4 separate regions of the Homo sapiens genome follow, and regions 2, 3 and 4 are each linked to region 1. Evidence: promoter capture Hi-C in 16 types of primary human blood cells and fetal thymus (Javierre and others, 2016). All regions are on one chromosome and are shown on one strand. The core of a region is centred on a gene start or on the middle of the fragment in contact, and the rest is flanking DNA. Distances in the headings are between cores, read along the strand shown.

What was found. Contacts are between HindIII fragments. The CHiCAGO score rates a contact against its expected background, and 5 or more counts as called.
Region 2: a fragment that was not itself captured here is called in contact with the fragment with the promoter of KCNF1 in region 1 in 2 of 17 cell types (erythroblasts and endothelial precursors); the score reaches 6.4 in erythroblasts.
Region 3: a fragment that was not itself captured here is called in contact with the fragment with the promoter of KCNF1 in region 1 in 1 of 17 cell types (erythroblasts); the score reaches 5.2 in erythroblasts.
Region 4: a contact is called between a fragment that was not itself captured here and the fragment with the promoter of KCNF1 in region 1, in 1 of 17 cell types (erythroblasts). The highest score is 5.0, in erythroblasts.

Annotation. Positions count from the first base shown.
Region 1 is chr2:10,910,285-10,913,473 of GRCh38, reverse strand. It overlaps KCNF1 (potassium voltage-gated channel modifier subfamily F member 1), which reads right to left and starts at 1,540. Exons shown (of 1, transcript NM_002236.5): 1 at 1-1,540. The coding sequence starts at 1,047. The HindIII fragment of the contact is 10,094 bases long and covers 1-3,189 here.
Region 2 is chr2:11,602,082-11,605,270 of GRCh38, reverse strand. GREB1 (growth regulating estrogen receptor binding 1) reads right to left here. Exons shown (of 33, transcript NM_014668.4): 17 at 2,729-2,865. Among named protein-coding and RNA genes, the nearest start is that of MIR4429, 63 kb to the right of the region's middle. The HindIII fragment of the contact is 1,552 bases long and covers 875-2,426 here.
Region 3 is chr2:11,543,881-11,547,069 of GRCh38, reverse strand. All of the region lies in intron 1 of GREB1 (growth regulating estrogen receptor binding 1), which reads right to left. Among named protein-coding and RNA genes, the nearest start is that of MIR4429, 4.8 kb to the right of the region's middle. The HindIII fragment of the contact is 4,331 bases long and covers 1-3,189 here.
Region 4 is chr2:11,525,085-11,528,273 of GRCh38, reverse strand. It overlaps a transcript of GREB1 not described here. Among named protein-coding and RNA genes, the nearest start is that of GREB1, 7.4 kb to the left of the region's middle. The HindIII fragment of the contact is 701 bases long and covers 1,320-2,020 here.

The DNA of each region.
Region 1 (3,189 bases), core at 291-2,790:
ATGGCTCTGCTCCATGGTGTAGCCCAGGGCAGAGAAGACGAAGATACCCACTGCCAGGTACATGAGCAGCAGCCCCAGTTCCTTGAAGCTGCGCTTGAGGGCATAGGTGAGGGTCTGCAGGCCCGAGGAGTGGCGGGCCAGCTTGAAGATGCGCGCGATGCGCATGATCCGCAGCGCCTGCACGGCCTGCTGCACGTTGGTCAGCTCCATCATGCGGGCACCCAGGTGCGTGAGCGTGAGGCTCACGTAGAAGGGGAGGATGGCCAGCACGTCCACAATGTTCATGAAGGACAGCGCGAAGTGCAGCTTGTTGGGTGACGAGAAGAGGCGCAGCAGGTACTCCAGGGTGAACCAGCCAATGCACGCCGTCTCCACGTTCTCCAGCGTCGGGTGCTCCACGCGGTTGCCCTCGGCGTCCAGCACCTGCAGCTCGGGGATGGTGCCCATGCACATGACCACGGACGAGACGAGGATGAGCAGGAAGGAGAGCACGGCCACCACCCGCGCCGGGCACGACGACTCGGGCTTCTCCAGGAACTTCCAGACGCACTTCTGGCAGCGGCGCCAGCGGCCCTCGGCTGCGTCCACGCCCAGGTCGTCCAGGATGAGCTGCACGCGGCGCGCGATCTCCTCCAGCTCCTCGCGCTTCTCGCTCAGGTGGCTCTTGCAACAGTCGTCCAGGAACTTGAGGTCCACCTTCCAGAAGTCCATCTCGTTCTTGAAGCAGATGGGGCAGATGCCCTTCTTCATGTGGACCTCCCCGAAATAGTACACCTCGATGACACACTTGAAGGCGTCCGGGTCCCTGTCAAAGTAGAACTCGCGCTTGCCGGGGTCGTAGTCGTCGCACAGGGAGAAGATGGTGTCGTAGCCCCCAGCCAAGCAGTTGATGAGCTCCGCCAGCCGGGTCTCAGGGTACTGACTGAGGAGGTCCCCGTACAGCACCTGCCGCACGCCCCCCACGTTGACGACTATCTCTATGTCGTCGCTGGCAGCGGAGCTCTGGCTGCCCGGCTCCGGGAGGCTGCGCTCCCCGGACCCGTCCATCCTCCCCGCGCGCGCCCTCGCAGCCTCCGCCCCGCGCCCCCTGCAGCCGCCGCCGCCGCTGCCGCTGGGGGTCCGGCGGGTGCCACCCGTGCGCTGATCTCGGGGAGAGCCTGGCCGGCGCCCGCCTGCGGGGAAGGGCGGTCACAGCGGGCAGCAGCCTGCGGGGGCGCGCCGCGGGGGAGGCATGCACCCGGCGGCGGGGCTCGGGGCTGGCATCCGGGCGCCCGGGCGAGCCCGCGGGGGCTTTGGCGGCCGCCGGCCTCGCCCGGGGCACTCACCCCGGCTGGCTGGCGGCGCGCTCCGCCGCTTCAGCTCGGCCTCCTGCGGGAGCGGGGTCTCCTCGTGGGCGGCTGGCACCGTCCTCCGCCCCGGGGCGCGCAGGCAGCGGCGGCAGGTCCCGGAGCTGGCGGACCCACGCCGTCCGCGAGGTGCTCGAGGTGTGCAGAGAGCGAACTTGGGCTGGCTTTGCCCGAGCCTTTTCTAAACACAATAGGAATTCCAGCCTGACGTCAGGAGCTTTTCAAACTGTACCCTCTTCTGGTGAAATTCTGCAAGGCACGCGCGGCAGCTGCAGGGGACGGATTAACCCTTGGGCAGACGGGCACAGCTGCCGCGCCCGCCGCCACCACCGCGCACCGCCGGCCCCTCCTCGGGCGCAGCGGGTCACCGAGGGGTTGCGACCTGGCTTGAAGCGGCAGGCATTCTCTCTCACTGCTGTTTGGAGAGGATTAGTGGGGAGAGAATGCTGCCGCCTGTTGCTGGGCAGGAAAATGTGCTCCAGGAAGCCCCTTAGAAGGTGACTCCTATGTCTGGGTCCCTCCTCCGGCCTTAGACCCGCGCCGGCTTTTCCTGGTGGGAGGAAAATCCTGCCTGATCCTTGAAGCGTTTCCTGCCCCATCCCCCCGACCCAGCAATGCCCTGCTGTGTTGGTGGCACTGTCTCACCTTCCCCGCAACGCTGTACAAGGAGGACATCTAGTCCAGCCTCCTGTAGAAGGGAAGGGACTTGCCCAAGGTCACGCGGCGGAATGAGAGCAGAGCTCAGCTTGACCGCCTCCTGATCCCGAGCTTTCCGGCTGTCCCAGCTGACCGACGCCTGCTGTTCAGCAGATTTCAATTCTGCCTTGAAGTCCCTGCCGTCTGGCACCTCCTATCTCTCTGCAGTCCCACACCAAGGCCACTAGCTTCCAGACCCCTAGGGTCCAGTGGCTCCTGCTTCCCCGTTCCTCACTCCTTGACCAAGGCCTGTCTCTTCCTGACCAGTGTCCCACACCCTCCTCTCTTCCAGCCTTTGCAGCCACAGCTGTCCTTCTGTCCTCACTCACCTGAACCACTACAGCAGCTTCCTAACAGTGTCTCTCTCCTCCGGTTCACCACTATCATCAATACTGCAAATTACTGATATCATCTATGGCCTCGAGATCGTGTTAAAAATATTCTGGAGGGAAGAATGAATAGGCAGAGCAGAGGATTTTTAGGGCAGTGAAACGTACCATAATGGCGGATATGTGTCGTTATGCAATGGTCAAAATCCATAGAATGTTCACCACCAGGAGCGAATGTTAATGCAAACTCGGTGCTGGGCGATGATGACGTGTCCATGTGGGGTGGTCCACCATGACAAGTGTCCCACCCTGTGTGAGATGTTGATGCGCAGGGGAGAGCTGTGGAGACAGGGGGCATGTGGGAATTCTCTGTACTTTCTGTTGAATTGTGCTCTAAAATATAAAGTCTATTTAAAAATGTATTCTGTAGGCTGGGTTTTTTAAAACTTAAGGACATGTCCGTTAATGGATTATGAAATCAATTTACTGGGTCACTGACAGTATTCTTTTTTCTTTAATGAGTTAGCATAAAACAGAATATATTAGAATACATCACATGAAGTATTATTTAGTGAAACTTCGTTTTACAAATTTTACTTCATTTCCATTTAGCATCAGACAATGACATGCTACTACAGAGTAGGAAATCGAGGCTCAGAAAGGTTGAGTAATAATAAGAGTTGCCACTTATTCTCCATGGGCATCGGAGTGCAGTCTCTGAGTGCTTTGCATTTTTGTCATTTAATTTCCCAGCAACCCCTAAGGAAACAAGATGTCAGGTAACCTGCCGAGATCACTCTGTGGAGCTGGGATTTAAC
Region 2 (3,189 bases), core at 401-2,900, 690 kb before region 1:
CTGGGCGACAGAGTGAGACTCTGTCTCAAAAAAAAGAAAAAAAAAGATATACGGTCTACTGGCTGTCAGTTATTCCCCATTAAAGCTGCTGCGTAAAAAAAAAAAAAAAAAAAAAAAAAAAAAAAAGAAGCAGGCTCTGGTGCCCAGCTCCAGACAGTACCCCCAGGTCAGGCACAGAAATGTACCCTAGCTGTGGCTCAGCAGAGAACTATGCCCACCCTTAAGCCTCTGTGGTAGGTACTAAAGGAAAAAAGTTCCATAGACAATATATTAGAATAAAAATAGGAGTTGTCAAAGGTCTAGATCTTTTGTTTTTAAGTCACAGTAGGTTTGTGTCCAACTGACAGTCCTACAAGCAGTTTTCCCAGCCGTATGCTGGCGTTTATGGCACATAGAGGACTAACAGTCGGACCACACACATGGTGGCAAGAAGCAGTAACCCCATGTTCTAACCTTTATCTCCTTCTGTTCAAATTACCAGTTTCAAGAGAGTTCTCCAGACAAATGATTCCTAGTAAAGGCAGTGCGGTATGGTGGAAAGATGTCAAACCTGTCTGCAGTCCATGTTGCCACCAACAGGCTGCATGAAGTCGGGCAAATCACTCTCCCACTCGGCTTCAGTTCCCACAATTATAAAATGAGGTGGTTGGGCCAAATAATTCCTAGAAGTTCCTATGATTCTCCATACTTCAACAATCCAGGGTTTGAAATTCTCTTTTCACCCAGTGAGACATAAGATTTAATCTCTGCAACACTTCTAGTTTAGCAGAGGGGGAGAGAGAAGAGAGGATGATGATGGTGAATAGTGGTGGAGGTGGTGGTGCTAGCAGCCAACAGAAGCATGTAATGTGTGCCAGGCCCTGTTTCCAAAGCTTTAGGTGTATGAATCCATTTAATCCTTATAGTACCTCTATGATGTAGGTGTTATCATCCCCAAAGAAAATCGAGAAACTTTCTCAAAGTCTCACAGCTGGTTAACGGCAGATTCAGGATTCAAACCCAGGAAGGATGATTTTGGAGCCTGAGCTCTCAGCATGCAACTGTTACTGAATGTGCACACGTACATTAGCTCATGAAACTCTAAGAAGCCACCAGCAAGGTGGATTTCTACAGGTCAGGGTACAGAAGTTTAGACAGGTTAGATGATTTGCCAAGGTTAAAACTGATAGAGGGTAAACCAAGATGTATTGGCATGGTGGTCACAGCCCACCCTTTACTAGCTGTGAGACTTTGGTCAATGTGGCTTGGTGGCTACGTGGTTTTGGAGCCAAGCAAGCAGGGTTGGGGTCCAGTTTCACTATAAACCCCCCATGTGACTCTGGACAAGTAGCCTAACTTCTCTAAGTCTCAGTTTCTTCATCTGAAAAAGGGAGATAACAGTATTTCCTATCTCACTGTGTCACTGTGAGGATTATTTTAGGTAATAAATATAGAGTGCTGAGCCCAGTGTCTACAACATACTAAACACATCATGTGTGCTCACTGTCTGAGGAGAAGCAGAGGAAGGGCAAAGGCCGGTTTTCTTGCCTCAATGTGAAATCTTGGAGGGCTACTTCATGCAGCCAGTTGATGAGAGCTCAGCTGTCGATCCATGTGCTGGAGAACTGACCTGATTAATTTCTATCAGTATCACAGAACCGAACAGTATCTAAGAGATTTAGTTTCTGCAAGAGTGTTCTGGGAAATTCTAGTCCCACGAGCTACTGGACACATCTCTAGCCTTCTGGAGAATTACAGCATGCATGGATGTGCTGAAGGCTCCAAGAACTCTCATGGAAAAGAAGTCCTTTCCTTAAATGTTTCTCAGACACGTTTGACCATGGAACCCCTTTATGCTTAATAGCTATTAGTATCCAGCCAAAGCAGTATACCTTGGAACATAGCTTGAGAAGGATATGTCTAACTTCATCCCTTGGTCTGCAAATGAGAAGAATGAGGTTCAGTAAGAAAAGCGGGTAGAAACCAGCTCATGCTGACAATCAGTGGTATTTTGTTCAGTGGCATTTTGCTTTGCATTAGATCGTCTATAAAACTTGGCCTGGCTTTACCACGAATAAACCATGTGGTCCCTGGCAATCACTTAGCCTGTCTGAGCCTCAATTTCATCTATAAAATGAGGTCTGTTGCGACAGGGTTAAAGGGGCTGGCTGTGCAGTCAGATTGACTCTGGGTTCTCACCCAGTTCTGTCACTTGCTAGACACGTAGCCTGAGAAAGCTATGGGGCCTCTCCAAGCCTCAGCCTCTTCATTTGCAAAGTATGAATAACAGTAGCAAGTGGCTCAGAGAGGCAGTGAGGATCAAATCAGATAATGAAAGTAAAGTCCATGGAAGAGTGAACGGCACAAAATAAACATTCAATACATGATATGCATCGGAAATAAAAACAAAGCTGACTATGATCATCACTCCAGTTTCTTTTAAAGCTTTGTTATCTTCCTCCCATTTTCCTACCCTCCATTGGCTCAAAAACATAATTCCACATTCCAGCATATTTCCGCTCATTGTCATCTCTAAAATTTTCTAGAGCAACAGGATGACAAAGATATCGCTGACCCAAAGGGATTCAAATAGAGGAGAAGGAAAAAACCAGGGTACATTTAGTGGAGAAACTGAGTTGCTCAGGAAGGAAAGGCCTCCCTTCCTGGAATTCCCTGGCTGGCTAAACGCACCTCAACTTGCCCTTTAAGCTACTGAGCACTTCTAGTAACTTAGAAGAGAAACAAGTACCTTTTTCCTAATGCAGTGACCATGGCCTCAAAGGAGCTATCGTATCTGAGCAAGGGGAGGCTGTGTCCTGAAAGGGTGGATTCAATAAACTCCGACAGCCCGAAGTACTTCTTATTTTCATGATATAAGTCCACTCCCTAAAACAAAGAAGAGCGTCGGTCACTCCAACACTGCATTCGCAGGGACGGTCAGAGGTTCGTGTGCCAGGCCTGCGGATGACCTGGGTTGGCAACTTCATCCAAATCGTGCCCACTGTGCAGTGGCTTGGATGGCATTTTATAAACTTCTTCCATCTGCAGAAGCAGAGCAAAGTACCTCCCATACTTTAAAAATGGTGTGTCCCCATTGCTCAGGAGTTTTCCATTCATTTGGTCCCAATGTTTTTACCAAGAAGAAAATCAGCCTTATCTTATTTTAACATATACATTTCTTTGTTAAATTTGCTTCTTTCTACAATCTTA
Region 3 (3,189 bases), core at 356-2,855, 630 kb before region 1:
GGGAGGCCGAGGCAGGAGAATCACTTGAGCCCAGGAGGCAGAGATTGCGTGAGCCGAGATTGCGCCATTGCAATCCAGCCTGGGCAACAGGGTGAGAAGCCATCTCAAAAAAAAAAAAAAAAAAAAGTTTAAACTAGCAGAATGTAAAATTCTCAGACATCCTCACTTTCAGAGTTATAAATCTGTATTATCATTACTTTCTGGTGCCATTTCTAGTAGTGACAAGACACTTCCTGATTTTATAGAAAGTTAAGGCATTCCTCTAAAGTTCTAAAGGACAGCACTAGAGACTTGGCCTAAGGAGACTAAGCCTGCATTCACACAAAAAGCGAGATGCGCTCCTGAGCAGAGCAGGGTTTTCATCATGCTGGGAGCCAAGAAAGTCCTGCAATTATTTCAAGAACAGGTTCTACCTATTCTCCCAGAACCACTTGAGAAAGTTTGTAAAGTCCCTATTACAGAGCTTGTATGTTACAACATTGTATTCCAAGTGAGCACATAAAAAATACCAAAACTTCAGTTTATAGCTCATCTACCTATTCACTTCAAGTATGTATGTATATATTTTATAAGGCAAATAATATATACTGTGGTCCATGCATGCATAAACCACATATAAGCATATAAAAACATGTGGTCCATGTTCTTATAAATCAGTAAGGACATATGTTGTATACATATATATGTGTGTATTTATTTACTGAAAGAGAGTATGAATGGAATAAGAAAACCAATATTTCTTTCCTGTATACTATGTGCCAGGAAATTTTCTTCCAACAGCTCAATGACAAAAGTATTATTGTCTTGGTTTTGCAGATGAAGGGAGGGGGCGTGGGAAGTAAAAGCATTCTTTGTCTTCACATCTTTGTTATTTTTTTTTATTTTTATTTTTTGAGACGGAATCTCGCTCTGTCACCCAGGCTTGAGTTCAGTGGCACGATCTCAGCTCACCGCAACCTCCACCTCCTGGGTTCAAACGATTCTCCTCCCTCAGCCTCCCGAGTAGCTGGGACTACAGACGTGCACCACTATGCCCGGCTAATTTTGTATTTTTAGTAGAGATGGGGTTTCTCCATGTTGGTCAGGCTGGTCTTGAACTCCCGACCTCAAGTGATCCACCCGCCTCAGCCTCCCAAAGTGCTGGGATTACGGGCGTGAGCCACCGCGCCCGGCTATCTTTGTTATTTTCTTTAGCGACACAAACCCCAAACATTTTAAGTATAATCAACAGCTGCTATCTGTCAGGATCACTCTGTGCAGAGATTTTTCTTGCTTTCCATTTGTAACCTTACTTCATCTTCATCACAGTCCTAAAACTTAGGTAACGTGGTTCTCATTTTACACATTAGGAAATTGAGGCTGGGTGACATTCAAGTGACTTGTCCAAGGTCACACATTTGGAACAATTTTAGAATGTCCAATGATGGCCCTCAGTATGCTTTACTGAAAGCAAAGATTCATTGGAAAGATTAATCCCTTTTCCTTCAGAAAAGGATGCATTTTTTTTAAGTTGCTTTTTAAAAATGGTGTTCACTTGTCCAGCCATGCTCCAAACTTTGGGTTAGGAAAAGGATTGCCTTGGGTTCTTTTGTCATGGTGCTTTGCCAAAAGGGGAGCTGCCATAGAAAGTTGCTGATTGGCCGGGTGCAGTGGCTCATGCCTGTAGTCCCAGCACTTTGGGAGGCTGAGGCAGGTGGATCACCTGAGTCAGGAGATTCGAGACCAGCCTGGCCAACATGATGCAACCCGTCTCTGCTAAAATACAAAAATCAGCCAGGTGAGGTGGCGGGTGCCTGTAATCCTAGCTACTCGGAGGCTGAGGCAGGAGAATCGCTTGAACCTGGGAGGCGAAGGTTGCAGTGAGCGAGATCGTGCCATTGCCCTCCAGCCCGGGACACATTTTTTAGCCTCATCTAAAAAGACACATTTCTAGCCAGACAAAGAAAACCGAGAGCAGGCCGGGCCGGTGGCTCACACCTGTAATCCCAACACTTTGTGAGGCCGAGGCGAGTGGATCACCTGTGGTCAGGAGTTCGAGACCAGCCTGGCCAACATGGTGAAACCCTGTCTCTACCAAAAATACTAAAGTTAGCTGGGCATGGTGGCAGGCGCCTGTAATCCTCACTACTCGGGAGGCTGAGGCACAAGAATCGTTTGACCCCGGGAGGCAGAGGTTGCAGTGAGCTGAGAACGCACTACTGCACTCCAGCCTGGGTGACAGAGTGAGACTTTGTCTCAATTAAAAAAACACAAACAAACCCAAGAGCATTCTAAGAATGTGGCCTGCAGACCCATCTCCTGCGTGGAGGTGAGCAGGCAAACAGGGGGGCAGGACAGACAGGCGGCCAGCGTTGGCTCCTCCACCTGCACCCTCAGCACCATGGGCCCTTCCCTGGGGATGAGAGCAGGAGCCTTCTGGCTCCAGCCCATTCCAAGGAAAACATTCTTGCCCTGGCCTCTCCTTAGAGCGACCCCTCCCCTCCTCTTCCCTCCTTAGAATAGAACAGCCAAAAGTTTGCCCACAGGTGAAAAATGGATTTCTCTTAAAAGGCTCGGCCGGGCGCAGTGGCTCACGGCTGTAATCCCAGCACTTTGGGAGGCCGAGGTGGGCAGATCACAAAGTCAGGAGATCGAGACCATCCTGGCTAGCACGGTGAAACCCTGCCTCTACAAAAAATACAAAAAATTAGCCAGGCATGGTGGTGGGAGCCTGTAGTCCCAGCTACTCGGTATACTGAGGCAGGAGAATGGCGTGAACCTGGGAGGCGGAGCTTGCAGTGACCCGAGATCACACCACCGCACTCCAGCCTGGGCAACTTGAGCAAGACTTCATCTCAAAATAAACAAACAAACAAATAAATAAAAGGCTCTCAGACTAGAGGGGTTAAGCATCCAACTAAAATCGGGGTCTGAATGATTTTCCTACTCCTCTCTGAGGTCCCTTCACTCCACCTGTTACCAATCATGCAATGAGGCACCTCTGTCTAAATGAAGCCTCCATCTGTCAACAACAGCGCTGAGTCCCAGAATGGGCTGGAACTCACTTCCTAAGATAACACTTGGCTCTGGGTGCTCCTGGGTGCTGTACACTCATCATTTTGCTCAGAAAAATAAAGCCACAGCTTCCGTGTACTGCCTACCCTTCAGACCCAACTCCTCCCCACTCCCCGGTCCATTCACAGACGGGCG
Region 4 (3,189 bases), core at 421-2,920, 610 kb before region 1:
CACATAAATGTGGATTTGGAGTAGATGTAAAGAGATAGAAAAGTCATCATTCTTCTGTTTCACCAGTGATCTCTAGATTTTTGTGATCTGTTCCTCAGACAGTCACAAGCCTATGAATTCAGGGCACTTTCCTGGTGTGAACAGCTAGGACCAGGAAGGTCTGACATAATCCCTGGTGTACTGTTTTCCTCAGGATGTTTTGGGTTTGGTGGAATTTGATTTTACAACCTGAGAAAGGCTGATTCTGAGATATTGTGTGTTTATTCTGCAGTTATTTGACTGTCAGTGCAGAAAGAAGAAAAGCCTTCAAAAAAGTTAAAGGGAAAGGAAATTAAGGGACTTAGGGATATTGATAGGTCTTAAAGCAGTTTGAGGATCTGTATCAGCAGAACAACAAATGTGGGGGACTTTGTTAGAATGCTTTTGGGATTAGGGTCAAGTGTGGCGCCCTCCCAGGCCTCCTGCACTTTTCCTTTGGAGCACCCGTCACACCAGCTCTTCATGCTTCAGTGTCTGTCTTCCCGTAGGACCCTGAACTACATGAGAGCTGAGTCCACATCTGTTTTACTATAGAATCTATGGAGCCTAGGCAGTGCCTGGCTGCCTCACTGAATAGCTCCTGGTTGAATGAATGAGTGCAGTCTTGCTATTTGGAGAGGCTGGCCTTCAGGAAAGACTGTCCAGGGGATGGGTTGTCCAGCCAATCCACCAGATGCCCAGGTCCCACTCTGGGACCAAGCTTCCCCACAAAGCATTTTTAGGCTGAGCAGCTCGGTCCCTCGTGAAGTTATCTTTCCAAAGTTGCACTGAAATGTTATTACCTTGGTTATTTTCTGAAACCATTACAGAAAACAGCCATATGGAATTGGCTTTGGCATTTCCTAACAAATTAAGTCCACTGTATCATTTATATGAGGTCCCACAACCAAAGTTACTTTGAGAATTTAATGCCATGAGAAAATATCTTTTCCCTTGAAGAAGTGACATGCCTCTTTCTTTCTAATAATATGACTAGTAGCACTTATCACTTCCCCATTTTTTTTGACCGCATGATAGCAATAGGTGCATTCAAAAAATAAGCAATGACTAATTTCAGGGAAAGCAAAAAACTATTCAGGACAAAAAACTAATAGTAGTACACTACATGGCTCTGCTGTCCAAGTGTTTACATGACTATAGTGATGTATACATTGAATTGGGCTATCTAAATCATAAATAACTGTAGTGGAAGGATGGAGGGCAGGATGTGGGTGTCTGTGTAGGGAGGATGAGGCATGTGTGAAAAAGAGCAACATCCTTATCTTCCATATTAGAAAGCTTAAGAATATTACCTAAAATTCAAAAATCAAGAAGTAGCAAAATATGTTATTTAGAAATATCAAGATAATTACCAAAAGAATCAGTTAAAAGGATTGAAGCCGGGAGCGGTGGCTCATGCCTATAATCTCAGCGCTTTGGGAGGCTGAGGTGGGTGGATCACTTGAGGTCAGGAGTTTGAAACCAGCCTGGCCAACATGGGGAAACTCCATTTCTACTAAAAAAATACAAAAATTGGCCAGTCGTGGTGGCCGGTGCCTATAATCCCAGCTGCTCGAGAGGCTGAGGCAGGAGAATCACTTGAACCTGGGAGGCAGAGGTTGCAGTGAGCCAAGATGGCGGCACTGCACTCCAGCCTGGGCAACAGGGTGAGACTCTCTCTCTAAAAAAAAAAAAAAAAGGATTTAAAGTTTTTGCCCCCAGAGAACAAGATATGGGAAGAAGGCATGAGTAGCTATAGAGAATAAGATCACAATTAGTACCGAATACATAATGTTATTTAATCTTCACTAAAATTCTTGTTTTACTAATGAGAAAACTAAGGCTTATAGATATTAAGTAACCAAGATCACATAACTAGTAAGTAGTTAAGCTGAGATTTTAATACAGCTTTACTGAAATCCAAAGCTCATAATCTTTCTACTACATTCTGCTCCTCTCTTATTCTCCTCTAAGAGGACTAGTGATATAAAGGAAGAAAGCTTAGAGCCACAGAGTCTCATGAAGTGCCGTATGATGTAAAAAAGAAAGAAATGTGGCAAAGATGAGTGCAGAAGAACGAAGGACAATGTTTAAGACCATTCATAAAACTAGGGCTCTATCCATAATTAACCTGCGTGAACTCAAGCCCTCTATGGATTTTTCTTGCACTAGAACAAGCTAAGTTAGCATTGATAAAAGAAAGCCTTTGATGAAACCCTCTCAAATGTCTGATGCTTCTATGCCAAGCTGAAATACGCCTTAGAAGCACCACCCACAGATGACAGCAGAGTTACTCTCCGGGCAAAGTTAAATTCAGAAGGCACTTGACTCCACGCAGCCCAAAGCTTTACAACAAAGGATCCATCAGGGCACGGCAGAGCATGGGGAAAGCAATGATGCTGAGAGTCCAGGCAGGAGGTGAGTTCACAGCAGGATGGAGCCGGGGCCAGGAGAATCTAGATGGGTCGTTCAGAACCAGGCATATGAAGTTCTGACTGCTGGAGCCCCGACCTCATGCTCCATCCTGCCAGGCTGGTCTGTCTCTGGGTAGGGCAGTCCTGGCCTGGAGAGTGGTGTCTTACACCCTGCAGTTAGTGCTTCCCTATCACCAAGAGTGGTAGAATTTCTGTGTGAGAATAGCCTCCCATGTCTTGGCCAACTGAGGCCCAAGTCAATCAACAGAGTAGGTCATTCCAAAAGGAAACAGGCAAAAGGAAAGAGAATATGACCTGAATGCCTTTTTTTTTTTTTTTTTTTTTGAGATGGAGTCTCCCTCTGTCACCCAGGCTGGAGTGCAGTGGTACAATTTCAGCTCATGGCAACCTCCACTTCCTAGGTTCAAGCGATCCTCCTGCCTCAGACTTCCAAGTAGCTGGGACTACAGGCACACACCCAGCTAATTTTTATATTTTTAGTAGAGATGGGGTTTCACCATGTTGGCCAGGTTGGTCTTGAACTCCTGACCTCAAGTGATCCACCCCCTTCGGCCTCCTGAAGTGCTGAGATTACAGGCGTGAGCCACCGTGCCCAGCCCGGATGCCATTTTAAAGGCCCCATTAAACATGTTTAAATTGCTTGGCTCATATCAGTATGAGTTCAGAGAAGCACCTCACGTATCAATAATCATATTTGGCTGCATGTAACACAGCCAACCACAATGGCTTAACCCAG